Regions from separate parts of the Homo sapiens genome. Here regions 2, 3 and 4 are each linked to region 1. Evidence: promoter capture Hi-C in human tissues and cell types (Jung and others, 2019). All regions are on one chromosome and are shown on one strand. Each heading gives the region's core, a stretch centred on a gene start or on the middle of the fragment in contact. The rest is flanking DNA. Distances are from core to core; before and after follow the strand shown. Region 1 overlaps GDPGP1 (GDP-D-glucose phosphorylase 1). Region 2 holds the start of FURIN (furin, paired basic amino acid cleaving enzyme). Region 3 holds the start of PRC1 (protein regulator of cytokinesis 1). Region 4 holds the start of RCCD1 (RCC1 domain containing 1).

Region 1 (3,483 bases), core at 1-2,500:
AGGCTGGACTGCAATGGTGCGATCTCGGCAGTGCCTGGTGGCACATGCCTGTAGTTCCAGATACTTGGGATGCTGAGGTGAAAGAATCCCTTGAGCCTGGGAGGTCAAGGCTTCAGGGAGACATGTATGCACCACTGCACTCCTGCCTGGGTGACAGAGTGAGAACCTGTTTCAAAATAAAATAGGCCGTGGCTGGGCGCAGTGGCTCACACCTGTAATCCCAGCACTTTGGGAAGCCGAGGTGGGTGGATCACCTGAGGTCAGGAGTTCAAGACCAGCCAGACCAACATGGTGAAACCCTGTCTCTACCAAAAATACAAAATTAGCTGGCTGTGGTGGCACATTCCTATAATCCCAGCTACTTGGGAGGCTGAGGCCAGAGAATCGCTTGAACCTGGGAGGTAGAGGTTGCAGTGAGCCAAGATAGCGCCATTGCACTCCAGCCTGGGTGACAGAGTGATAAATAAATAAATAGGCCAGGTGCAGTGGCTCAGGCCTGTAATCCCAGCACTTTGGGAAGCCGAGAGGGGAGGGTCACCGGAGGTCAGGAGTTCAAGACCGGCCTGGCCAATGTGGTGAAACCCTGCCTCTACTAAAAATACAAAAATTAGCCGGGCCTGGTGGCGGGTGCCTGTAATTCCAGCTGCTTGGGAGGCTGAGGCATGAGAATCACTTGAACCCAGGAGGTGGAGGTTGCAGTGAGCCAAGATCGCGCCACTGCCCTCTAGCCTGGGCAACAGAGTGAGACTCTGTCTCAAAAAAATAAAAATAAATAAATAAGCTGTGCATGTTGGTTCATGCCTGTAATCCCAGCACTTTGGGAGGCCAAGGCAAAGGGATCACCCGATGTCAGGAGTTCAAGACCAGCCTGGCCAACATGGTGAAACACCATCTCTACTAAAAATACAAAAATTACCCGGGCATGGTGGTGCCTGCCTGTAACCCCAGCTGCCCAGGAGGCTGAGGCGGGAGAACCGCTTGAACCCAGGAGGCGGAGGTTACAGTGAACCAAGATCACTGCCACTGCACTCCAGCCTGGGTGACAGAGTGAGACTCCATCTCAAAAAAAAAAATAAATAAATAAATACAATGACAATCTCTGGAGGTGGGTTACCATCATGTGTTTTCATCTTTTATGACTATTTCAGGTCAGCTCTATGGCTCTTCCACATGATTCAAACGAAACTTCCTATTTGCTGCCTCCCAACAATGAGGACTGGGGCAGGCAAACCATTCCTGACTTTGTTTATGGGCAGAAGGATCTCATGGCAGAAGGGATTCAGTGGCCAAGGAATGCACCTGGCATCCCAGATGCTCTGCCACAATCTCCCTTTGATGCTGCACTCTGCTCTGCCTGGAAGCAGCGGGTGGAGCTGGGGCTGTTTCGCTACCGTCTACGGGAGCTACAGACCCAAATCCTCCCTGGTGCTGTGGGTTTCGTGGCTCAGCTGAATGTGGAGCGTGGTGTGCAGAGGAGGCCCCCGCAGACCATCAAGAGTGTGAGGCAGGCATTTGACCCTGTACAGTTCAACTTCAACAAGATCCGGCCCGGAGAAGTCCTCTTCCGTTTGCACCGGGAGCCTGATCTCCCTGGGACTCTGCTGCAAGAAGACATCCTGGTGGTGATCAACGTCAGCCCCCTGGAGTGGGGCCACGTGCTGCTGGTGCCTGAGCCTGCCCGCCAGCTCCCCCAGCGCCTGCTGCCGGGTGCACTGAGGGCAGGGATTGAGGCTGTGCTGCTGAGCTTACACCCGGGCTTCCGTGTCGGCTTCAACAGCCTGGGAGGCTTGGCCTCGGTGAACCACCTCCACCTGCATGGCTATTACCTGGCCCACAGACTGCCCGTGGAGCAGGCGCCAAGCGAGCCCCTGGACCCTGGAGGCCATTTGCATCTGCTCCAGGACCTCCCAGCTCCTGGCTTCCTCTTTTACACTCGTGGGCCAGGGCCTGACTTGGAGTCCTTGATAAGCAGGGTATGTCGGGCCACTGATTATCTGACTGACCATGAGATTGCTCATAACTTGTTTGTCACCCGGGGAGCTCCGCCGGGAAAGACATCACCTTCCTCAGCCCTCACAGGGGTCCGAGTAATTCTGTGGGCCCGGAAGTCCAGCTTTGGGATAAAGGACGGTGAAGCTTTCAATGTTGCCCTCTGTGAGCTGGCTGGGCACCTCCCTGTCAAAACATCCCAGGACTTCAGCAGCCTGACAGAGGCAGCTGCTGTGGCCCTCATTCAGGACTGTCGGCTGCCCCCATCCCAGGCAGAAGACGTACAGGCAGCACTGGTGGCCCTGATGTCCCAGGAAGAGCAATAATACTTCTGGATGTATTTATGTTCTTTTTTTCTTTTCTTTTGAGATAGGGTCTCACTCTGTCCCCAGGCTAGAGTGTAGTGGTATGATCCTGGCTCACTGTAGCCTCCACCTCTGGGGCTGAAGTGATCCTCCCACCTCAGCCTCTTGAGTAGCTGAGACTATAGGCGTGCACCACCACACACCTGGCTTTTTTTTTTTTTTTTTTTTTTTTTAACGATTAGGTGATTTTGTATTTTTTTATATAGACAGCGTTTCACCATGTTGCCCAGGCTGGTCTTGAACTCTTGGGCTGAAGCAGTCCTCCCACCTCGGCCTCCCAAAGTACTGAGATGACAGGAGTGAGCCCCTGGATTCTTTTCTGTTTCTTTTTTTTTTTTTTTTTTTTTTTTTTTTTTTGAGATAGTCTCGCTCTGTCACCTAGGTTGGGGTGCACTGGTACAATCTCGGCTCACTGCAACCTCCACCTCTAGGGTTCGAGTGATCCTCCTGGCTCAGCCTCCCGAGTAGCTGGGACTATACAGGCTCCTGCCACCAAACCCGGCTAATTTTTTTGTATTTTTAAAAGAGAAGGGGTTTCACCACATTGGCTAGGCTGGTCTTGAACTCCTGACTTTAGGTGATCCGCCCGCCTCGGCCTCCCAAAGTGCTGGGATTACAGGCGTGAGCCACCACACCCAGCCAGGATGTATTCATTTTCTACCTGATGAGTCCCTTTCCAGAGCACTGTCCATCATAGTCCTTTGGACATTTATTTTCATGGCTGCCTTCTCACCTGTCTCAGCCTAAGAAGAAGGATGAAGAAAGCTGATAATGATCTCTTAAAGGGGAGAAAGATAATGGTCTCTTTAAAGGGGAGCTGATAGTGGTCTCTTTAAAGGGGAGAAAATCTGGAATAATTCTACTGAGTAAGACATCATGAATGTATCTGCTACCTCTCCCCGTTCTTGTTCAAGCCCCAGGGGTGTTAAAAAGGAGTGTGTGTGACAGTTACACACTCCTGACTTTACATTTAGATTTTGTCTTCCTTTGATATCAAATGTTAGCACGGTAATAGTGCCTGTGCCTCCAGTATTGAGCTGCCACTTCTGTTCTCAGCCTGTTTATTCCCCTTTGCTCACCACTTATTTTTATTGCTTTGTCCCTTCTTTCCATTTAGCCCTGCTCCACC
Region 2 (3,456 bases), core at 31-2,530, 630 kb after region 1:
GTTTCAAGTTTGGGAGTTTTCTCCCTCACTGCTAGCTGTCTCAGAGCTTAGTTCCCAGCAGACAACTCTTGCTGCCTCGAACCCTGGCACACTAACCACCATCCTGTGACGTTCCCACTCCTCATTCTGCGACAGTGGTTCTTTGCTGGGAGAGATTTTTGTCTCCCAAGGGACATTTGGCAATACCTGGAGATCTTTTTGGTTGTCATCATGGGAGCGGGAATGCTACTAGCAGCTAATGTTTAGTGACTAGGGATGCGACTGAACATCCTGCAATGTAGAGTGCAGTGTCCCCTACAGAGAATTATCCGACCCAAGATGTTGATAATGCCAAGGTTGAGAAACCCTGTTCAGGATGACAAACTGATTGAAAACTCAACAAGGGGACCGGGCGTGGTGGCTCACGCCTAATAATCCCAGCACTTAGGGAGGCCGAGGTGGGTGTATCACTTAAGGTCAGGAGTGCGAGACCAGCCTGGCCAACATGGCAAAACCCCATCTCTACTAAAAATACAAAAAAAAAAAAAAAAAATACGAGTGGCGTAAGCCTGTAATCCCAGCTACTTGGGAGGCTGAAGCATGAGAATCGCCTGAACCCAGAAGGCAGAGGTTGCAGTGAGCTGTGATCAGGCCATTGCATTCCAGCCTGGGCAACAGAGCGAGACTCTTGTCTAGAAAAAAAAAAAACAAACCCATAAAACAAACAAACAAAAAAAACTATGAGGATTGAGTGATTCACATTTCTGAATCGAGAGAGAGAAGGATGGGCAGCAGGCTTGTTGAAGCTGGAAGGCCAGGGAGGTCGCAGACTGAGGAAGACCCTGGTGTGTCCCAGGTACCTCCATGCAACCCTACTAGAGAGGTGGTCTCTGGCTTCCTATGGACAAGCTCTAAGGGACCCAGCTATGGGGCACCAGAGCCCAGCGTTCAGCAGCTGCTCAATGAATGTCTGCCAGGCGAGACTGCACCCAAAGCATTTATTAGGTACATAATTGTGGCAGCACTGGCTGGCCATGGAAGGCAAGGCAGAACACAAGGAGCTGGAGCTGGCGGAAGGAAGTCATTAAGTCAGCCAGTGGCTGGGATGCAGCAAAGCCAGGCAGAAGGTAAGTGCAGACCCACCCCAATAAATGAGGAAAATGAGAAGGGCTGGCTGGCCATGTTAGGATCCAGTTCCAGTGCGACCAGATATGTCACCACCACATCACTTTTAGCTCCTCCCCCCACCCACAGACACCCTGTTTGCCTGTCATATAAAGAAGGTTTTCCCAAAGTGGTTTAGCCAGAACTGGAAGGGCCCCGCCCTGTGAAGGGATAGGAGCCTGACTGTTGCAGCTGCAGTGAGTGGCGGGGAAGCAGCAGCGGCCAGGATGAATCCCAGGTGCTCTGGAGCTGGATGGTGAAGTATGGACATGCTTTATTCGATTTTGCATTGACTTAAAGGTTTAATTATTTTAGGAGTTCTTGTAGACATTCCTGAAAAATGCAGGTAGGCAAAAAGAAGAAAACAAAGATCGCAAATGTGACCCTTTCATTCGGAGAGAACACCAATGGAATTTTGTTGTGCACCCTTCTATGCACGTCTGAATGTTGTGTAGACATTCTGCTTACAACTAGGTGTGGGTGCTGCTGCCGAAGGCTTTATTTGCTGTGCCTGAGGTGGACCAGAGATTTCAGAGAAGACTCCCAGAGCACCCCAAGGAGACAACAGGAGTGCTTGGAGTCAGGATGACTGGGTGGATTTAGGACTATGTGATTCTCAGGAGCCTCTCTGGATTAGCCCCAAATCAAGGATAAAGAGAGGCCTAGCTGGACTCTTCCTCCCAGAGCCCTGCTGGGAAAATGGAGCCCCTTTACAGCCCCCACTTACCCATCAGGCCCTGCTCCTCTCACTCATCTCCAGACTTCTGTCACATGCCCAAGTCCTGCTAACTGCTGTGTAAAACTGGTAAGGTGGGATCCAGAGGACCTTGGGCCCCTAGGGCCCCAGGTCAGGAGACCTGGGCTCCAGGGCCAGTTGAGAGTGATAAAGAGAACAATACCTGCCCACAGGACTTGTTGCAATGAGATAAAGGCAGAAGTCACCAGTTGTGGTCAAATGGGATTTTTTTCCAGAGAAGTCTCACAGAGAGTGGCTTTCAAATTCTTTTTAGCAGCAGAATTGTTGTAAAATACAATCTCATGTGAAACCCTAAAATGTGAGACACTCTGGGTGAAGCAGAGAGAGGTGCTCAACTGCCCAATCCTGTCCTCATTCCTCCCTCTCAGGGAGGCACCTCTGAGAACCCACTTTAAAGAATTTTGCCTTATGCAGATTGAAGAGGCAAGCTGGCTGGAAGAAACTGGGAAGCTCCACTTCCCACCGCCTCTGCCTGGGTGGCAGTCATCTGAGCCTAGGCTAGCCCCTCCCCCTCCAAAGACCCACTGCGGGCTCCCCTGGGGCCAGTCTCCAGGATGGGTGGGGCACCTGAAGCAGCAAGTATTGCTATTTTTCTGGGCTGACCTTTCTTCTAGGCCTGAGGACAAGTGGGTAGGTGGGGCCAGCCCTGTCCCTGTTTCCCCTCAATGGAGTTCTCTTGCTCACAGCCTAAGGAAGAAGCGTGAGTCACTTCCTGCCTCAGTCTGACTGCTGGAGTATTGTTCTCCCAACTGTGGCTGGCGCTACCCAGTGTGGCCCCTACAAGTCTTAGTTCCTTGGCGGAGGGGAAGTCCCCACTTTGGGACAAGGCCAACTGGACTTATCTTCCCGCTCAACTTTGAGGACCCAGCATTGTTCCTCCAGTTTCCAGTTCTTGCAGTGTTTGTAAAGGTGCCCGAATCGTACCTGATCCCATTCACTAAATATTATCTCCATTTTATAGAGGGGTAAATTGAGGAAGTCCCTGAGAAATTAACTTGTCTAAGGTGTCCCAGCAAAAAATAGTGCCCCAGGGATTTGAACCGGTTTGCTGATTGATTTTTCACCAGTTGCCTTAAGAATTATCATGATTTAACCTCTCTGGGCCTCAGTTTCCTCCTCTATAAAATGCAGACAGTGATACATCAAAGGTACTTAAAGGAAAATGTACTGTACCCACCTCATGGGGCATGTGGTGAGGATAAAACGGGTTGACACAGGAAAAGAGCTCTCAATGGTGCCTGGCTCATAGAAAACACTCAGTGGATTTTTTTTTTCCCATTACCCGGGAACCTGTGTTAAGGAGGCCACAGGCTGATCCTGTGCAGCCAGGTTATCTCACAGGGAGCGAGAAGAGATGGGCACAGGCTACTCTGCGACCTTGGAATAACCCAGCCTGGGAAGCTCCTGGCCACATTTTCCTTCTTTTCTTTCTCAGCTCAAGCAGCGTCGGCCTCAGCCAAGTAGCACAAACGTTTTCTAGGGCCCAGGGAGGGAGAGGCTCCGGCTGGTATATTGCAAGTAGCTTGGATTCAGGCTCTGCCAAACACCCCAGTCTC
Region 3 (3,335 bases), core at 302-2,801, 750 kb after region 1:
GTTTCGTTTGAGCCTCAGAGGTCAAAGCTGCAGTGAGCAATCTCGCCACTACACTCCAGCCTGGGCGACAGAGTGAGACCCCGTCTCAAAAAAAAAAAAAAAAAAAAAAAAAAAAAAGTTAATTATATCCATTAGCCTGGAACCAACATTAAAGGGTAAGTTTTCTCCTGCTTCATTCAATCCCTTGATAGAGGAGATGCCTACATAATTCATAAACTGTTAATGGACTTTTTTTTTTTTTTTTGAGACGTAGTCTCACTCTGTCGCCTAGGCTGGAGTGCAGTGTCGAGATGTCGGCTCATGCAACCTCTGCCTCCTAGGCTGAAGCGATTCTCCTGCCTCAGCCTCCTGAAAAGCTGGGGGTACAGGCGCGCCACCAGGGCCAGATAATTTTTGTATTTTTAGTTAAGACAAGGTTTTACCATGTTGGCACTCAATTCTCATTATTCTGAGGGCAAGCATTTTAAAAAGACTGATCAGAATTAGTGATCATGAAATGAAGAATCTTACAAAGCCTTAGAACAATCAGTTCCACCAAAAACTACACATTATTTAACGCTGTATCATCAGAAAACTGCATCCACAACTTTTAGAAAATAAAGTTAATATTTGGAAGTCACAAGGTTGGTAAGTGGCAGTGTCACCGTCTGGTCCCGATTTCAAGTCGGACAGTCCCTCCCCAACACCGCCTAGGAAGTTATTAAAACGACCGGAAAAGAATTCCATAATCCGTTTCTTAACTTGCAAAGAAACAAAGCTATCTTTCCAATTCAAACAAAACGTTAACACCGCTGGCCAGATATAAAGAAAAACAACGGGCCGGGCACGGTGGCTCACGCCTGTAATCCCAACACTTTGGGAGGCCGAGGTGGCAGGATTACTTGAAGCCAGGAGTTCGAGACCAGCCTGGCCAACATAGACCGCGTTTCCACAAAAATAAAAAAAAAGAATAAAACAAAGAAAAACAACGATAAATAAACTTAACAGCTTTAAAGAAAAGCCACGACCACAGAAGGTTTACAACGAGTCATCTGCGCCAAGCAGCGGCACCTGAGACGCTGCGGGCGGGGAGGGTGGGGTCCGAGCGCCAGCGCTGACCGCCTGGGTGGAGGCCGCCCCGGGCCCCGGGCCTCGACTACCCTGCCGCGTCCGGGCACCGGCGCTCGGCTCCCACCCGGGCGTCTGAGCCTGCGGGCACCTGCGGCCGCCGGCGGACAGCGCGTCAGGTCTCACCGCCGCGGCCCTCGCACTGGCTCGCCGCCTCCAGACCCTGCCCCTCAGCGCCCCCGGCCTCCCTCGGCGCCGACTGCCGTGACGATCTAGGCCCGGGACCCCGCACGGGTCCCGCACCCCTGAACAGGCCCCGCAGCCGAAACGAGCGTCGCTCCCTCCCGCGTCCCCTCGATTTCCCCGCAACCCGCACCTTCTCCTCATGGCGGACGCTCCAAGCAGCCGTGAGTCCAGGTCCAGACCTACTCCACACGGCCCCGAGAGCAACAACCACCCGCAAACACCGGCGATGTCACTCCGCGTAGCCGCTCCGCGAGCCGTTGAGCCCCGCAAAATTTCAAACCGCGCCACGGGGCGAAGCCTCGTCGCGATTGGCGTCGCGTCCCGTCGCTCCAAGAAAATCCCCGCCCCTCGGGCTGAAGTCGCGGGTGCGCAATCGGGGTGGGGACTCGCGAGCAGGGCCTGGGAAGCGCCGGAGTGGCGGCGGGGGATGACGTCACTGTCTGTGAGTGGCCGGGCGTGGCCTGCGCCTCCCGCTTCCCTGGCTTGGCGGCAGCCTCAAGGGACTCCTCTCCCAAGCCAGCTACCTCATCGGAGCGCCGCCCCGCCTCGCCCCGCGCAGTTTGGATTCGAAGTGCGCGGGCGGGGAGGGAGTTGAGAGCACCGCGGCTACCTGGCTTCCCTGAGTCCCGGCTGCCGGGAACGGGCGCGGGGGTGAATAGGTAAGTTAGCGCCTAGTTTCCCTCGCTCATCCAAGAAGCGAAGCTTGGAATCGATCTTTGGTGGGACTCTTCCCCAGATGTAAGAAGCCATACACTAAAGGGGAAGGGAAGGAACATTGAGTCCTGCTCATGGGCCTGGAACGTTTCAACGCCAGTTATCCCATTTAACCTCCACAATCGCCATTGCAGAGGAAACGCAAAAAGATTTGAATGATTTGCCTAAGTCACGTTATCAAATTAGATGAGTTTCTAAATCGTTACATGAAAAATTTAAAACTCAAAATAGACATTACTTTTGTAGCCTCCTTTCCTCGATGAACATGTTACATCCCTAAATGCTTATATATCACCGTTTTTTCCCAGTGATTCATGGTGGCATGGTGGCATGAATCCTGGTGTGTAGATATCTCGCCCATTCTGCTATTGATATTTAGATGATAATTTAAAAGATAAGGCTGGGCTGAATATCTTCATACATAAATCTTTGTGTATGTATGTATTTATAAATGCATCCTGCATTTTCGTACGGCTGATTCCTAGAGGTGTAATTACTGAATGCTCCCTTTATTAATTTGCCTTCTGCACAAAGCCTCACCGGAAAAGTACCCTCCTTTTGTTACCCTCAGCAGGGCTGAATTCTATTGTACTTCTAAACATCTTTGCTCATTTTGTAGGTAAAATAATAATACTGGCATTTCCTTGTTTGGCACTTGATTATAATTGAAATTGCACATTTTTCGTGTTTATTGGCCAACTGTAACTTAAGTGAATCCTCTTCATATGCCTTTTCCCTAAAGGTAAAGGATGCTTGTTTGCTTCACCTTCAGAACCATATTTTTCTTATTTTCAGAAAAACTTCATTAGTGCTTTCAATGTTCTTTTTACTTTTTTTAATTGAGACGGAGTCTCGCTCTGTCACCCAGGCTGTAGTGCAGTGGCCCAATCTCAGCTCACTGCAACCTCCGCTACCTGGGTTCAAGCAATTCTTGTGCCTCAGCTTCCCGAGTAGCTGGGACTACAGGCACGCACCACCATGCCTGGATACTTTTTTTTTTTGTATTTTTAATAGAGACGGGGTTTTGCCATGTTGGCCAGGCTGGTCTTGAACTCCTGACCTCAGGTGATCCGCCTGCCTCGGCCTCCCAAAGTGTTGGGATTACAGGCGTGAGCCAACGCGCCCGGCTTCCATGTTCTTTTTAACTTGTCAGCAGCATGCCAAACATTCACAGCACCAACACAGTGGGCGACAGGCACCACTTTTTCAATTTCCTTGCACTCTGTGATTAACATTGACACCACTAATAGAGTAGATGGTAGCACTACTTTTAAAATTTACTTGCATTCTTTGTTGATTAAATTAACAGGAGAGCTTTTCAGAAAGCT
Region 4 (3,447 bases), core at 308-2,807, 710 kb after region 1:
AGTGGGGGAGGAGGGACGGACCAGGAACTCCCAGCAGCAGCTGAAGGGGGCAGTCCTAGGGTGTGTGGGTGTGTCCCTTGCCAAGGTTGAGCCTGTTGCCCAGGGGTCATATCTACCCTGTTTTTCTCACAGACCACACACTGGCTGGAGATCCTGCAGGCCCTGCTTCTGAGCTCCAACCAGGAGCTGCAGCACCGGGGTGCTGTGGTGGTGCTGAACATGGTGGAGGCCTCGAGGGAGATTGCCAGCACCCTGATGGAGAGTGAGATGATGGAGATCTTGTCAGTGCTAGCTAAGGGTGACCACAGCCCTGTCACAAGGGCTGCTGCAGCCTGCCTGGACAAAGCAGTGGAATATGGGCTTATCCAACCCAACCAAGATGGAGAGTGAGGGGGTTGTCCCTGGGCCCAAGGCTCATGCACACGCTACCTATTGTGGCACGGAGAGTAAGGACGGAAGCAGCTTTGGCTGGTGGTGGCTGGCATGCCCAATACTCTTGCCCATCCTCGCTTGCTGCCCTAGGATGTCCTCTGTTCTGAGTCAGCGGCCACGTTCAGTCACACAGCCCTGCTTGGCCAGCACTGCCTGCAGCCTCACTCAGAGGGGCCCTTTTTCTGTACTACTGTAGTCAGCTGGGAATGGGGAAGGTGCATCCCAACACAGCCTGTGGATCCTGGGGCATCTGGAAGGGCGCACACATCAGCAGCCTCACCAGCTGTGAGCCTGCTATCAGGCCTGCCCCTCCAATAAAAGTGTGTAGAACTCCACTGTGTGCCCTGTCCTTGGGCAGGGAGGGCTGCTGTGAGTGGGAGTCTCTGAGTGGGTGAGTGTGGGTGAGTATGGGTGTGAGCTGGGCGTGGGTGAGTGTGCAACGGAGCTTCACAGTGGCAGACCCACCTCCATGGAAGGAATCCAATGGATTCCCCAACCAGGGCCCACTGAGTTGCTTCTTAATCCTACTGGAGGGACAAAGGGTAAGCCTAGGAAGCTAATCAATAAGAAACTCACCAGGTGCGGTGCCTCAAGCTTGTAATCCCAGCGCTTTGGGAGGCTGAGGCAGGTGGATCACTTGAAGTCAGGGGTTCGAGACCAGCCTGGGCAACAAGCAAAACTCTTTCTCTATAAAAATACCAAAAAAAAAAAAAAAAAAAAAAAAAGAGCAGAGTGTGGCGGCATGCACCTGTAATCCCAGCTACTCGGTAGGCGAAGGTTGCAGTGAGCCCAGAGCGCAGCCTCCCAAAGTGTCGCCTGGGCGACACAGCGAGACCCTATCTCAAAAAATATTAAACTATCCCAAGAAATAAGTCGTTTAGGGTAGAGACTCCCATATGCTGGGCCTTCAGTACGTTTGTCTTTATATTGGGAGTCCTCTGTGGCCTCCGCTGAGGGCGCTGGGGCGGGGGTTGGGGTTGGTGGCCAGCTGAGCCTGGTTGAAGGGCGGCTTGGGCCCCGCCCACCACCCCAGCACGTTCGAGGAGGGCTAAGCCCAGCGTGAGGCTCGTTGGCTCGACAGAGGCACGTGACGGGTCCTGAGCCAATCCGTGGAAGGTAAAAGCTGCTTCCTGTTGGGGCATGAGTCCGGCGCGTGTCGGGTTTTGAGCTGCCGCGGTCCCGGGACTGAGGTGGGTGGCGGGGTCCGCCCGTCTTGGGCGTCACTCCTCGCCAAACCTTTAGCTCAAGTCTTAATGAATGTCCTCTCTGTGGTTCTAATCCGAGCTCCAGCCCCACGGGTTCCTGCAGGGGCGGGACCACCTGGCCCAACCTCTGCCTTGGTCCAACGCCCCCGGTTTCCTCCAGGGCCTTGGTCCAACGCCCCTCGGAGGTTTCAGCCCATTTCACAGACCGGGCCGCAGGGCCCCGGCGTAGGCCTCGGGACCGGAGAGGCCCTCAAGGGGAGTTGAACAGGGCTGCGGCCGCCGCGCCCCGGGCGGCGACGTCACCGCCCTTGCTGGTGATTGGCCGCCTCGCGCCGCGCGCCCTTCAAACCTTTTCTCCCCGTGGCTGTCGGCGCCCGCTGGGCGGGAGGCCTTTCCGGAGGCGGCCGCTCTGCGCCTCGGCGTTTCCTCCAAGGCTGCCCACCAGAAGGACCTGCCCGAGAGGGTAGAGGGCATAGGGTCAAGATCAAGGTCAGAGGCCCCCTTGGGTTGGGAGAGGACACGGAAGGGGTTAGGAGCCCAGGAACTGGGGTCTCAGGAGAGACCCAGGATCTGACTTAAGAGGCCTGAAAATGCCCATGCAATTCTGCTTCAGCCCGGGTGCAGCGGCTCACGCCTGTAATCCCAACGCTTTGGGAGGCCGAGGCGGGCGGATCACTCGAGCCCAGGAATTTGAGACCAGCCTGGGCAGCATAGCGAGACCCCTGTCTCTATTATATTAAAAAAAAAAAAAAACAAACCCGCTCCAGCCGAATCTGCTTGAAGTTGGCGTTGCTGTTGTAACCACCAGACTGTTTGTCTCCCCATTTAACGGTTAGCTCCTTGGGAGCAGACAGCTGTCCTCACTGGCAGAGGAGGAGCGCTCAGTAAATGCTCGCTGGACGAATAAATGGCTAGATAAGGTACAGTTGAAATTCTGTCTGTATAAGTTTCTCAAAACCAGTAAGATGTCCAGGGATAATTTTTTTGTCAACACTAAATACTGGATTCAGTAAGCTAATACTGTGTGTTTATCATGGCATGTACTCGCACCAAACCCTTTATTTGCATTTATTACAATTCTGTGAGGAAGGTTCAAACAGCACCGCCCCCACCTCCCTTTGTAAACTGAAGAAACGCAGTTGGACTCAGGTGGATTGGCTGCGGTCCCAAGGCCCCGCTGAGTTGCAGAGGCACTGCCTCCCAAACGCTCTTCTGCGTTCCGCTGTGGGGAGAGGGGCAGAGCACTGTGTGTGGAGTTGGTGGGACCTGATTTCAGCGCTCTGCCCCTCTCTGTCTGGCTGTATGAGTGTGTAAGGGTTACTTTGTCTCAGAATCTCCTCTGTAAAACGACCATTTTGGTTCCCAAGATTACATGGGATAAAGTGCCAGATGCTGGGAAGCTGCGGGACGGGGTGGGGGTGTCGGGGGCGCTCGGATCCTAGTCCAATGCCTAAAGGACAGGCCACTTCGTACCCACTTTGTGGCACGCTGAGCTTGAGCCAAAAGGGAGGACAGGGAAAGTGCCTCTAAATATTTGAGCATCTTTGTAAATCCGGTAGGGCATTAGTCAGGGCGCCTGCTCAGCGAACCTTCGTGGCACGGACTCTGCCTTTGTGGTCGGGAGAATGATAGTTTCTCCATTTTACAGATAAGGCAGCTCCAGCCCCTGGAAGGCCAGAGACTTGCCAGTGTCCCACTAGCGGGCTCTTCGCAAGAATCCCCCCGGGCCCGCCGCAGCCAGGCGGCGGCCGGCAGAGGGCGCTGCTCGGGCATGGCGGAGGAGCGGCCGGGGGCCTGGTTCGGCTTCGGT

What was found. The method cuts DNA at HindIII sites, captures the fragments that hold promoters and counts their contacts. A contact is called where the count stands out against the background at its distance.
Region 2: the fragment with the promoter of FURIN here is called in contact with a fragment that was not itself captured in region 1 in 1 of the 25 tissues and cell types used here (spleen).
Region 3: the fragment with the promoter of PRC1 here is called in contact with a fragment that was not itself captured in region 1 in 2 of the 25 tissues and cell types used here (aorta and spleen).
Region 4: the fragment with the promoter of RCCD1 here is called in contact with a fragment that was not itself captured in region 1 in 1 of the 25 tissues and cell types used here (spleen).

What each region holds. Positions count from the first base shown.
Region 1 is chr15:90,239,752-90,243,234 of GRCh38, forward strand. GDPGP1 (GDP-D-glucose phosphorylase 1) reads left to right here. Exons shown (of 4, transcript NM_001013657.3): 4 at 1,149-3,483. The coding sequence starts at 1,158. The coding sequence ends at 2,315. It also overlaps a transcript of CIB1 not described here. Among named protein-coding and RNA genes, the nearest start is that of GDPGP1, 7.3 kb to the left of the region's middle. The HindIII fragment of the contact is 7,306 bases long and covers 1-3,483 here.
Region 2 is chr15:90,867,308-90,870,763 of GRCh38, forward strand. It overlaps FURIN (furin, paired basic amino acid cleaving enzyme), which reads left to right and starts at 1,281. Exons shown (of 16, transcript NM_002569.4): 1 at 1,281-1,404. RefSeq lists enhancers at 1,813-3,012, 2,255-2,304, 2,372-2,666, 2,405-2,514, 2,452-2,746. The HindIII fragment of the contact is 14,305 bases long and covers 1-3,456 here.
Region 3 is chr15:90,992,984-90,996,318 of GRCh38, forward strand. It overlaps PRC1 (protein regulator of cytokinesis 1), which reads right to left and starts at 1,552. Exons shown (of 15, transcript NM_003981.4): 1 at 1,424-1,552. The coding sequence starts at 1,434. LOC124903556 (a long non-coding RNA gene) reads left to right here and starts at 1,796. Exons shown (of 2, transcript XR_007064759.1): 1 at 1,796-1,952. RefSeq lists enhancers at 858-1,725, 1,726-2,592 and a silencer at 1,089-1,308. The HindIII fragment of the contact is 8,571 bases long and covers 1-3,335 here.
Region 4 is chr15:90,953,327-90,956,773 of GRCh38, forward strand. It overlaps RCCD1 (RCC1 domain containing 1), which reads left to right and starts at 1,558. Exons shown (of 8, transcript NM_001017919.2): 1 at 1,558-1,622; 2 at 3,286-3,447. The coding sequence starts at 3,409. It overlaps UNC45A (unc-45 myosin chaperone A), which reads left to right. Exons shown (of 20, transcript NM_018671.5): 20 at 133-767. The coding sequence ends at 390. RCCD1-AS1 (RCCD1 and UNC45A antisense RNA 1) reads right to left here and starts at 1,167. Exons shown (of 2, transcript NR_170325.1): 1 at 1,009-1,167. RefSeq lists enhancers at 1-415, 1,240-1,794, 1,595-1,704 and silencers at 1,925-2,054, 3,285-3,447. The HindIII fragment of the contact is 8,803 bases long and covers 1-3,447 here.